Linked DNA regions of Homo sapiens: region 2 is linked to region 1. Evidence: promoter capture Hi-C in 16 types of primary human blood cells and fetal thymus (Javierre and others, 2016). All regions are on one chromosome and are shown on one strand. Each heading gives the region's core, a stretch centred on a gene start or on the middle of the fragment in contact. The rest is flanking DNA. Distances are from core to core; before and after follow the strand shown.

Region 1 (6,188 bases), core at 1,979-4,478:
CTCAGCAGGCATGCACAGTACCTAGAAGCAACCACAGAGCTCTTTAATTAGATGTACTGCTTTTGTACTTCTGAAATGACTCAGGAGACTAAACTCATCTTAGCATTTATTAAAAATCCCACATTTCCTCTCTCATCTTCTAGCTATTTTGCTTTAAATACTTAGATTATCAGCATTAAATGGCCATTTTCAGCCGTTTACCTTTAGTGTGGTGGTCAGCTCCTCTTCAGTCAGCACCTCCTCCCTCCCTATCACAAAGGCTCCCTCTTCCCCTACCATCTCCAGTTTGCATAGGAAATCCCAGCGCTCGTACACTAGGTGCCTTTCAGCTTCAGTTTTTGTTCCTGTAGATGAAACAGCAATGTGAAAGTCTCAGTACACCCAAGGGTTCATTTCTTCTTTAGTCTGCCACCCAGTCTACAAAGTCAACTGCTATTTAGCAAAGCTATTTAACCTGAGGCATGGGTATAGACACACCATCAGTGTCAAATATTGAGTTAATGATACACTCACCCTGTAATGCTGCCTCACGAACTGTCACCATCTGAATGTCAGCTGTGTCATCTGTGTTGTCAGGATATGGTTCAACAAAACCGTACATATGAATCAGTTGCCAGTTAGCCATTTGCCCATAAGTGTTGAAAATCTCATGGCCTTTAGGAATGGGCTGAGTGGCTACCATCCGAAGACAATTCTGAGGTGAAAGGGAGAAGCTGGGGCCATGCCTTTCACGGGCCAGCCCCATGAAGATTATTTCCACTTAAGAAGAGCCTTCAGCAGGTGTAGTTCAGCCATGACTGATGCTGTTAACTACCAAAGTTCTACCTTTAGTTCCTGTTAGACCCTAAACTGTGAAACAAAAAAGGGTTGGGCTAACTTTAAAAGGCCAGCTTCATGTTTAACTGGGTGGATTTCTGCACAGTCCTCTTCAGCACTTAAAAAGTTGCTAGCTTTAAAAACGAAATTTTCGGCCAGGCGCAGTGGCTCACACCTGTAATCCCAGCACTTAGGGAGGTCAAAGTGGGCAGATCACCTGAGATCAGGAGTTCAAGACCAGCCTGGCCAACACGGAGAAACCCCATCCCTACTAAAAAATACAAAAATTAGCCGGGCATGGTGGCAGGAGCCTGTAATTCCAACTACTCGGGAGGCTGAGGCAGGGAGAATTGCTTGAACCCAGGAGGCGGCAGTTGCAGTGAGCCGAGATCACGCCACTGCACTCCAGCCTGGGCGACACAGTGAGACTCCGCCTCGGGGGGGAAAAAATGGAACTTTCGCAGATCAAAGTGGGAAAGGAAAATGGAGGCAAGGATTAAGAAATAACCATACTTACTAATTTCTGATCCTATAAATGTGCCATCTTTTCAGGCTACTTTTTATATAGAATAGAGCTGGTATAAACACAGCTTTATATCAGTTCTAGGATCGTCTTAGACCTTTGGCCTGTGAATGTCCTCATCCCTCCAAAACACGGAGACTATCACTGTTCCAGGCTGCTATCCACAGAGCCACACACAGTCTGGGCTCACTGATGTGATCAGCCAGAAAGGAATGAAACATGGCTATGCAGACCACTCAATGTCTAGCACTAAATAAATGATGGTAGTATAGTTTATCAGAGGATTAACCACAACTTACTTTGAGGACTTTAAAATGTTTCGCATTCAAATGATTCTACAGTAATATGCATACTAAAAGGACATACAGGAGGAGCTGATTTCACCTACTCATTTTGTAGCACTAGTAAGAGAATGGAGCCTAAGACACAATGGCTTGAATCATGCTCAATCAGTGCACCAAGAGAAACTCCACTCACCGCAGAGTATTCTAGATTGGCGTTGTGATTGGCTAAGTGGTTTAGTATGTCTGCAGCAGGCACCATCACGGGGGAGTTGGGCTCCTTTTCATCCTCTTCTTCCTCCAGTGGTTCCTGAAAGCTGCCATTGACAGAACCTGGCTAAGGCCCTGTCTTGGGTGAGGGACTGGGGGTGGATTTCACTGTTTTTCCACTTTTGTCCCTCTATAGAGTTGTAAAGAAAAGGGTTCCGTCCTCAGAGGCCCCACCCACTGACCTATAGGCCATCACAAGGGCCACCAGCTGGTGGTAGAGTTCTAGGGAGCGAACCCTGAGGCTGAAGAGATCGGGGTGGGCTTCCATGAAGGGCAGCACGATGGACTGGTACTCGCTGCGGATGTTGGCCAAATCCTTCTCCACGGCCTCAGGTACGCCTGTGCCCTGGAGCAGGCACCGGCGCTCCTCCTCTGGCCTGCAGGGACACCCACACCCAGGTTCCCTTCATTCCTTCACACACTTTACTGGGTAGGACTGGTGCAGGGGCGGGGAAACTTCTTGCAGCAGGCTACGGTGCAGGCGCTCCCCAACCCCTCCCAAGGCTCTCACCAGAACATCGGGTGCTCCAAGCGGCCCAGCTCGGGCCAGAGCGCAAAGTAGGGCCTCCAGCGTGAGGCCGGGGCCTGCAGCTCGTGGAGCAGCGCCAGCAGCAGTGGCACCCAGCCCGACTGGCTCTGCAGCGCAACTCGCTCTGAGGAAGACACAGGTGTGAGCGCCCCGGCGCGGCCTCGCGGGCCGGGCCCGCCCCGCCCCGCCCCGCCCCGCCCCAGGGCCCTAGCCCGCCGCCGTGCCCACCTCGCTCCAGCAGGCCGCCGATGGAGCAGGTGTGCTGCGACAGGAGCGCGGCCCGCGGCACCACGAACAACAGCTCTCCGGCCTGCACGCTCTCCCGGGCCACCATGCCGTAGCCGGCCACCGTGCCCTGCCGGCTGACCGCCACCTGAGCAGGAGGGCTGGTCAGGGCAGCCCGCGCCCCGCCGCGGGTCCTCCGCCCGCCGGCTCGCTCGCTCACCTTGGGACTCAGCTCCAGCCCCACCCGCCGGCACCAGCTCAGGAAGCAGGCCACAGGATCCAGGTCGCCGCCGTCCACGGGCCCCGCCACCTGAGATAAGTGCGCGCAGTGACCAGGTCCGACCCCCAGAGAGGCCGCTGGGAACTGCAGGAGACCGCGGCGCGAGCGCAGAACGGGCTTTGGGTGGAGGAGGGGACGAGCGGAGAGGGGCGCGGGACCCGCGGGAGGGAGCGGAGGGGGCGCAGGCGGACGGTTCTGCGAACGGAGAAGGGGTGAGGCGCGGAGGAAAAGGCTGGACCCCGCGCCCGCCACTCACCCGTGGACGCTTCGCCTGGGTCGCCATGGTCTAAGAGCGCGTTTCCTCGCGGGCCGGCGCACCGCGCGGTCACTTCCGGCGTCTCTGGCCCCGCCCCGGCGCCGGAACCACGTGGTGCCTGTTTTGTCGTCCACGCTGCAGACTGGCCGGAGTTACCGCGGGCTGGAATCGTTCCTCATGAAAACATCTTGAGTCCAGGATCTCCAATTGCACTCACGCGCTGCGAGTGCAGAAGGAGAGTCCCGTGCCGCTTGGCGCCTGGTTCTGAGCCAGGTACAGCCCTGGCCTTCGGTCTGTCCCCGAGGGCTGAGGCTTCTTGCGGTCTGGGTGCAAGAACAAAATACGGTTTCTGGATCGGAAGCCGAGGGTCTGGTGGCCGGCCGGTGGTGAGCGACGCAACTGGGCGGCGAGCGACCTCCTGATCTCGACCCCTTGTTGCCGATGGCCATGGAACCCTTTTACTGGTGGTATTCGTTCAGAGCAGTTTTCGTGTGTGTTTCAGAGTGGCGTGGCCTAGAGGGCTCCTGGATCTAGAATAGATCCTCTCTGCCCTTATTTGCCAGTACATCCTCGTTTTTAATCTGCTGCATAGCACGTGGTGGGTTTTATTAGCTGACATAGTAGGGACTCAATATCTACCTATTGGGTAAATAAATGAATAAAACAAATGGTGGTTAAACCTGGGGAAGTAGCATGCTGTTAAATGTAAGAAAATGAGGCTGTGAATATAGAGGTTACAGGAATGGGTTTTGAAGCCAAGCAACGCCGCAGCTCAACACTCAGTTTTTTTTTTTTTTCCTTTTTTTTTTTTTTTTTTTTGGCGCGTTGGGGAGACGGGAGTCTCGCCCAGGCTGGAGTGCAGTGGTGCGATCTCGGCTCACTGCAACCTCCACCTCCCGGGTTCAAGCAATTCCCCTGCCTCAGCCTCCCAAGTAGCTGGGACTACAGGCGTACGCTGCCATGCCCAGCTAATTTTTTGTGTTTATTTTTAGTAGAGTCGGGGTTTCACCGCGTTGCCCAGGCTGGTCTCGAACTCCTGAGCTCAGGCAATCCCCCCGCCTCGGCCTCCCAGAGTGCTAGGATTACAGGCGTGAGCCACCGCGCGCGGCCTGGTCTGTTACTCAGGCAAATCCTTTTTCCTGAACCTTAGTCTCCTCACCTGCGAAACTAAGATAATACCTACTCTGTAGAATTAATGTAAGGATTGGTATGTTGACTAAAGAAAAAATATTAAGCTTTTAAATAATTAAAATTAGTTTTATTTAGAAGCCTTATTGAGGACTATAGACTGAGGCCTGTAGCCCAGGAGTAATCTTGTGAGGCTCCTCTAACACGGTATTTTAGTTTAGGTTATACATAGGTGAAGATTTAGTATGTGTAAAATCATATCAAAGTTTAGGGATAAGTATATCTGGTTATAGATTGCAGAGTATAATCATTAACCCTGTCAGACATGATCGTATGTTTAGGAGAAGGCAAAGAGTAGGTCATTTATCTTTGAAGGAATGTAGTGACTCAGGCAAGAGATTTGGAGGGCAGGGGTGTTTTGTTTTGTCTTTAAGGCATTTTTTTCTGGAGAGCTGTATTTTGTTTTTTTGTTTTATTTTGAGGCAGAGTCTTGCTCTGTCATCCAGGCTGGAGTGCAGTGGCACGATCTCCACTCACTACCACCTCTGCCTCCTAGGTTCAAGCGATTCTCCTGCCTCAGCCTCCCGAGTAGCTGGTATTACAGGCACGCGCCACCATGCTCAGCTAATTTTTGTATTTTTAGTAGAGACGGGGTTTCACCATGTTGCCCAGGCTGGTCTCGAACTGCTGGCCTCAAGTGATCTGCCCGCCTCAGCCTCCCAAAGTGCTGAGATTACAGGCTTGAGCCACCGTGCCTGGCTGAGGAGAGCTGTATTTTGTCACAGAGTCAGGGGAGAAATGAGCACATAAGCAGAAATGAGCACATAAGGCTTTTAATGTTTGTGACATTCTCATCTCACCGGTAAAATAATGTGACGTGTACTGGAAATAGAAAGATGGGTGGAGACCATCCTCTCCTAGCACCCTCAACCCAAAACCCAAGCAGCACCAGCAGCCCCTGCCCAAACATTCTGTTTCTCCAAAAGCCTCCCATGATGGGCATGGCATCACCACACTGGAATTCTTCTTAGGTTCTTTATTAGTTTTTCAGCACAGTTAACTCTTTCTACGTTGACTAGAGTTTTGTTTTACATTTTATCATCTCATGACAGCAGCCACCAGAATACACAAAATTAGGCTCTTTACTTTGTGCGGAGAAGAAAATAATAAACATTAAAAGTTCACCTTGACCAAAGAGACAACCTCCAGAAGAACACCACACATGGGAGGACCCGATGTACACACACACACACACACACACACACACATATAATGTATAGATATTTATAGATACATCTGGAAACAGCAAAAAACAAAATTCCAAGATTTGCAGTGTTATCTACAGTAAGAGGGATGAATTCTACCAGCTTTCAAACAGTCACATTCAGTATTCAGAAGAAGCACATGAGGGGGTAGAACTGGGCAGAAACTAACACGCCACCAGGCTAGTCATGGCTTAAGATTATAGAAGGGGGGTGATGTGTGTAGAGGAAATACGCATATAGGTGTCCTCTCAGCCTCAGAACACCCGCCACAACCCTTCCCCCGTCCACAGCCCTGCATGTTTTCACTGCTCTCTCCCGTTTTGGGGTTTGTGATTATTGATTTAGGGTCTGAGACAAATGGCTCTGGTTTCTGGGCCGCAAGATGCTATGGGGTAAGGTGAGTGGATGGAAAGCATACAACGCAGTCCTGGGCTTCAGGGGACAGCAGGAGGCTGGGGTGTAGGGGAAGCCTTTCTCTTCTACCTGACCCTTGTTCATGTCCAGAACCTTCAGCCCCCAGTAAGCCCCAGCCCAGGCGGCTATGGGGTGTGGGACTGTAGAAGCCTCGCTGCCTTGGGCCAGTTGACTAAATAAACTCTCTCTTCCTTAGTGATG
Region 2 (6,705 bases), core at 71-2,570, 340 kb after region 1:
ATGCCACGAAGCACAGGGAATGTTGGCATGAGACTCTTGGGGTCTGGACAAAGCACGCAGCAGAGTGAGGAGTCACCTTGAGAACCTGAGGTTACCACCAGTCCCTGTGTGAGGAATGTTAACTCTGGGGACATTGTGTTCTTAATGGTGTCCTGTGCACAGCCACATTGGAGAGTCAGTGGCATGGAGATAGAGAAGGGAGGTATCATTGTCAGCTCTGTAGAAAGCAGACAGGTTGGTTTTGGCTTTACAGGCTAAGGTGGAGTAGGGCTAGAGAGGGAAGAGTGGAGGCAGCAAACACGGGCTTGTTTTGTCAGAGCTGTGGACTCCTGGGGGTACAGTGAAGAACAGAGCTACAAAAGTCGGAGGAAGCCAGACTGTGGACCCTGCATAGTCTTGAATTTTGGGCCCAGGCGGTTAAATGTTACAGATGTAGTTTGGTCTCCTCCTACCCGGAGATCCTGAGAAGTGAGGGTGAATGGCAACCAGTCACTTGGGACTTTGTAATATCTTAGTCCTAAACACTAGTGTACAACTGGTGTCTTTGAATTAAATTGTTAATGGTTTTTGTAGCTAGAAATACTGTGTTGGCAGTCCAGAGACATTTATTTTTATGGCTTACACCATTTATACAGATGCATGGTGTAGGTACCACATGATGAGGGAGGCCTTCCACAGATAAAAGTCCTAATGAGATAGCCCATGTTAGTTTTCTGGAAATAAAATATTCCAGCCCTCTAAGGGTTAGAAAATTAGATCTTTTCTCTTTCATAGCGTATTTATTGACTTGAAGTTCAATTTAGCCTAGTCTCTGTGAGTGATTTCCTTAACTCACAGAGGAGGAGCTGCTTTGACACCCAAGAGATGGCATCTTAAGCCTGTCTTTACATTCAAGCTGTCAGTGTGCAGCCAAGTCCTGGCTAAGAAGCCTTCTTGCAGCAGAGCTGGGAGAAGAACAAAAAGCTTGGGTGTGTGTTATGTAGCTGAAGCTCTCCTGAGCAGAAGTGGTGGCTTGTTGGTGTTGTTCTGCCTGAATGGGGGTCAGCTGTAGCCAGGGCCAGCCACCCAACCCCACAACACCATGTACTGGCCTGTGCATTTCGTTCCCTGCGCTGCCCTGAGGTTGATGAAATCAAATATTTTTCCTAAGCTGGCAGGGGGAATTACTCTTACCTAAAGGGGGAAACTTGAGAAAGCAAAGACCTGGTATTCTTAGAAAATGTTAAATTTGGTTCTTGGCAAATTTGATTTTTTTATTAAATTTTTTTGAACATTATATGTGGATCAAAAATATAAAATGGTAGACAGTGAAAAGTCTCTTTTATTCCCCTGTATTCCAGCTGCCTATTCCTTTACACATATATACGTGAAACCAGTTTTTATTACTTCTGTATCATTTTTGCAGATACAGAAAATATGGATGTATAGTTTTTATTTTCCCCCTTATTACAGAGACACATTATATACACTGTTCTGTGTTCCCTGGAGAGATTCCCTACATTGCTTGAGTCTCTCTTTCAATAGAAGAACAAGAGAAGTTTAATAAAGGTGTGTTTCTTAATTTTATAGAAAGCATGGCTTGGATTGATGGGAAAACAGATTTACATGGATTTGATTGGATATCAAAGATAATGAGAGTTCCTGACAAGGGTTTATGATGCCTTTAATGAAGCTTGTAGCATTAATGTATTCTGACTCTTAGAAATTTTTTAAAAACTCCCAGCGAGTGGGTCTCTGGATTACCAATAATGAAAACTTCCATTTACCTATCAGTTTGGCCAGTGATCATTTTTGATACCCCTGTCTTTTTTCACTCCTAAGACGTCAGGTGTTGCCTGTGAAATGTTCTTTTTTTCCAGTCTGGAATTGGTTTCCGGGGAGCAGAGGGTATAGATTTTTTTGTAAGCTCTTGCCATCTGCAAATGCTATAGCACCTCCTTTTTCCTTATTTTTCTTTTTTGAGAACAGCCTGTGTCGCCACTGTTTTACCACAGTAGCCCATGAAGTTCTTCAGAGCTCTGCCATCCACTCAGAACTCACTTCTCTAGAGTATACTGTGGTGTTACAGTGGGGTTAGTTTTCTTGATGTTCGGTAAGAATGTGAAGACAGACAACTTAGACTTCACAATGGTGTAATTGTGGTTAATAATTGTAATTGGCAAAATCACAGAGCATTAAATAGGAAAGATCTGAGTTGGCTTAAATGTTTTTCTCCCTTGGAATTCCTTCCATTTTTTTTTTTCTTCTCTTCTGATGATTAAAATATAAAACCTTCATCTTTAGTCTTCCCATTTATTTCAGATCAGGTAGTAAAAAAGTCATGGGATTCCTTAGTCACTTAAGTATCAAATAAGCTTAGAGAATGGCCTGCACTTAGGATGACAAGATGCAGTGAGACTAAATTAACTTTCTGTTTTCTGGAATCTGTTTCAGCAACTCTACCAGATCCTGACAGACTTTGATATCCGGTTTTATATGTATGAACTACTTAAAGTAAGTGGTGTTCATAAACCATTAATTTTTTTCAGGCCTGTTCATTAAAAGATAAGTTTTTGAGAGAACAAAGAGAACTTAAGCAGAATGTTTCTTGATACCCAGAGGATTTAGTGAAGTTTTTAAACTTATATTGAGGCCTCCATCGAGGAATCTTCACATAGAAACTTTCCAGTGGAACTGGGAAAAAAGTGGCCAAGTCAAGGGGTACCAGGGACATTATACCTTAGAACCTCCCATAGCTCTTGTTGGTCCATATGTTTTCTCTTTGCTGCTTTATTAATACCTACTGTGAATGTAACAAATCATCCCAAACTTAATGACTTTTAAAAAATGATTATTGTTTCTTATAATTGAGTTAGCCAGGTGATTCTTTAGGTCTCAGTTGATTTGACTGGGGCAGGATGGTCCAGGATGACCTCATTCACAATCTAGGACCACAGCTGGGGCAGCAGGGATAGCTGAGGTCTCATCCTCCAGCCTGTGAAGTTCATGCTGCTTCCCATGGTGGTCCTCCTGGGGTTCCTAGCAGCAGAGAGAGGGAAACCTCAATGTATAGGCACTTTTCAACCCTCTACCTGTGTCATATTTGCTAATAACCCTATTGGCCAAAGCAAATCACATGGCCAAGCCTAGCTTCAAAGCATGGAAAAACCGACTCCACTCTTGATGGGAAAAGCATTGAATATGTAGGCATATTATAGAGAGACATGCCTACAGGGGTGGCAGGCATTTGCAGCCATCTTTCCTTGCCATGTGTCGTCATCCCCTTCTTGCATGAGTCTTCCTAACCTACCCCTGTAGCCGTGGCTCGTTAATGCAGGGAAAAGTGATGGGTAGAATGTCTAAGAGACTTACTAATCCCAAGCACAATGAAATTTGAAGAATTACTGGTTGGTGGAGGAATGATCATTTTGTTTGTCTAGATAAGCACTTAAAGGAATGCTCAGTTTGTAAAATGGAATACACCCATGGGTCCTAGATTTTTGTGTCCTGGATCACTAAGAACCTAATGAAAACTATGAACTGCCTCCAAAAATGCATGTATTAATATGCAGTCTTGTGAAAAGTTTTAGGGTAGTTGTAGATCTTAAGAACAGTTCTATGAAATGAATGTGTTTTTATAAGAACTTGTACGCACCACTTTTTATTAGAGAAAGCTGAGGTGGTGGATTTAAGGTTCACTCTTATGGCTAATGGGTCTTCCTTTTTGTCAGTAAGATCAGAAACACGAAAAAGGTCGAGCTTGATTTATCCCACGTTTCTCCATGTCTTCTCTAGACTAAAATTGAAGCATTGGTGTGGATAAAATTTGCAGTGCCATGATCCTGTGAACTGTCAGGCTAGCTCCTTTCCTGGAAGTGCTTCCTGAGTAATCCCATGCACTCTCACCCCATGAGAGCTACAATTCAGATCTCACAGTTGGTTATTTTTAAGTAAGATGGTTTGAGATTTTGTGTTATTTAACCATCAGCCAAAGCTAAAGTTGTATAAGCTAGCCTGCCCTTAGGTCCCATAAAGACATCCAACTAATGCAGGTCTTCCCAGGTGGACATGTGGGTGTCACTCAATGTCTGATGTCCTTTCTGCTTTCTGGAGGTAGCAGCTAGGCAGTGAGGACATATACTTATTTTTGCTAATGAGACGTAGAATCCCAGATGAAACTTGAAAAACGTCATTCATGCTTAATGGTCAGAAACTGTACGAGATTTTAAAACTGAAATAATTCCCCAAAGAATTTCAAAGCATGTCAGTAACTCCATAGGGAGTCCGACTAGGAAACTTGGCAAAAGAATTAATTACCTTACTGTATTTGTTCAGCCTTTGCTTTCATTGAGTATTTTTCACATGCCAGGTATTGTGGTCTTAATTAGTTTATTCCTTTGGACAAAGAGTAGGCAATATAGCAGAATCAACACTTGGTAAATTTTCTCTTTGAAAAGAAAAAACAGGAGTGGGGAAGACTAAATATTTAACTCCTTTGAAAATGTAGAAGCAACTGAGGCTGAGGGCTGCAGTGTGATGACTCGGTGACTTAACCTGATCTCCTGATTCAGATTCAAGGAGGTCTGCCCTCACAACCCCTGGTTTCATAAAGCACTGCCACAAAGGCACTTTGGAATCTTGCTACAGTTATTATAAAACAGAGGGAAAAAATTGAAGTAGAATGTAAGTGAAGTAAATAAATCTTAAACGTACAGTCTTTTGGATGTTTGTGTATGTAAAACTCTCACCCAGATTTACACAGGACGATGATATCCAGTATAGTTAGTAACCACTGCCCATAGGTAGCTATTTAAATTAAGTAAAATTCAAAATTTAGTTGCTGGCCAGACTCGGTGGCTCACGCCTATAAATCCCAATGCTTCGGGAGGCCAAGGCAGGTTGATTGCTTGAGCTCAGGAGTTCAAGACCAGCCTGGGCAACATGGCAAAGCCCCATAGCTACCAAAAAAAAAAAAAAAAAAAAAATATATATATATATATATATATGCATGCTCCAGGTGTAGTGGTACATGCCTATGGTTCCAGCTACTCAGGAGGTGGAGGTGGGAGGATCCACTTGAGCCTGTGAGGCAGAGGTTGCAGTGAGCTGAGATCATGCCACTGCACTCTAGCCTGGGCAACAGAGCAAGGCCCTGTACAAAAAAATAAAATAATAAAATAAAATTTAGTTCCCTAATCACACTAGGCACATTTCAGGTGCTCAGTGGCCTCATGTGGCTAGTGGCTACCGTATTATAGAGTGCAGGAATAGAATATTTCCATCATTGCAGAAGGTCCTATTGGACAGGGCTGGTAGAGGATATTGTGAACATCCTGCAGGGCTCTCTTGTGTTCTTCTGTTCAGTGTCTCCTCTGAAGATTATATCTTTATATGTATCCCCATAGTTAGTAGTGCCTGTTCTTGATCTTCAAATAACAAGCATTCTTTCTTTTTTTATCTGTCGCCCAGGCTGGAGTGCGGTGGCATGATCTCGGCTCACTGCAACCTCCACCTCCCGGGTTCAAGCAGTTCTCCCGCCTCGGCCTCCTGAGTAGTTGGGATTACAGGCACGCACCACCACACCTGGCTAATTTTTGTATTTTTAGTAGAAACGGGGTTTCACCCTGTTGGTCAGGCTGGTCTCAAAACTCCTGACCTCGTGATCTGCCCGCCTTGGCCCCCAAACTGCTGGGATTACAGGCGTGAGCCACCACGCCTGGCCATAACAAGCATTCTATATTGTATACTCTTGGTTCAGGGAAAAGCACAGATCGAGGGAGCTTATTCCTGGAATGCTAATCCTAGGGCTCATTCTCTGCCTTGTGTACTCCTCCAGCATGAAGAAGTCCATTCAAGTGTCCTCAAGAGTCTAGTTTATTGCTTCTTATCCAGGTCAAGCTTGTCCCCCAGGGGACATTGGGCAAAATCTGGAACCATTTTTGGTTGTTAAAACTGGAGGGGGGCTCTAGTGGTAGGTAGAGGACAGGGATTCTACTTGAAGAGTATTTCATTGACCTTGTGTAGGATTCAGGTGCTTGTTAAGATTAGCCAAAGGTCCTGAATTTGAAGTTTATGAAGATAGTTATTATGTTAGGCAAGGGAGATTTAGAAGCAAATTTTTACATTAAAAAAATGGAGCTTAACAATCTAATAAATGATTGAAAGATTTGAATCAGCATTTCTCCAAAGAAGATTTAGAATGGCCGGTAGACACATAAAAAGAAGTTCCACTTCATCACTCATTATGGAAATAAAAATCAAAACCACATGGAGATACCACTTTACACCCACCAGCAAAGCTATAATCAAAAAGTTGAACAATGACAGGTGTTGATGAGAATGTGGAGAAACTTGAACCCTCAGGTTGCTGGTGGGAGTAAAAGTGACGCAGCCACTTTGGAAGATAATTAGGCAGTTTCTTAAAAGTTTAAACACAAATTTAGCATACAACCCAGCACTTCCACCCCTAGGAATCTACCCAAGGGAAATGAAAGCATGAGTGGAAACAACCCAAATGTCCATCAGCTAGTAGTGGAATACTACTCAGCAAGGAAAAACAACTTGGATGAATCTCAGAAACAGTATACTGAAGGAAAGAAGGTAGACAAAGCACTATACATGTATGATTTCATATTATGAATGTACAGAAAAGGCAAATCTATACCAGCAAATAGCAGGTCAGTGGTTGTGGGCAGGGCACGGAGGGGTTGGGAGAAGTTAGGAAAG

What was found. Contacts are between HindIII fragments. The CHiCAGO score rates a contact against its expected background, and 5 or more counts as called.
Region 2: a fragment that was not itself captured here is called in contact with the fragment with the promoter of SETD6 in region 1 in 2 of 17 cell types (M2 macrophages and monocytes); the score reaches 6.4 in M2 macrophages.

The regions. Positions count from the first base shown.
Region 1 is chr16:58,512,557-58,518,744 of GRCh38, reverse strand. SETD6 (SET domain containing 6, protein lysine methyltransferase) reads right to left here and starts at 3,228. Exons shown (of 8, transcript NM_001160305.4): 1 at 3,181-3,228; 2 at 2,648-2,954; 3 at 2,402-2,543; 4 at 2,073-2,267; 5 at 1,817-1,937; 6 at 514-694; 7 at 202-344; 8 at 1-21. The coding sequence starts at 3,207. NDRG4 (NDRG family member 4) reads right to left here. Exons shown (of 15, transcript NM_001242835.2): 15 at 5,126-6,188. RefSeq lists enhancers at 1,355-1,524, 2,174-2,343, 3,384-3,553 and a silencer at 2,604-3,263. The HindIII fragment of the contact is 14,988 bases long and covers 1-4,417 here.
Region 2 is chr16:58,170,239-58,176,943 of GRCh38, reverse strand. CSNK2A2 (casein kinase 2 alpha 2) reads left to right here. Exons shown (of 12, transcript NM_001896.4): 5 at 2,434-2,493. Among named protein-coding and RNA genes, the nearest start is that of CSNK2A2, 25 kb to the left of the region's middle. The HindIII fragment of the contact is 709 bases long and covers 966-1,674 here.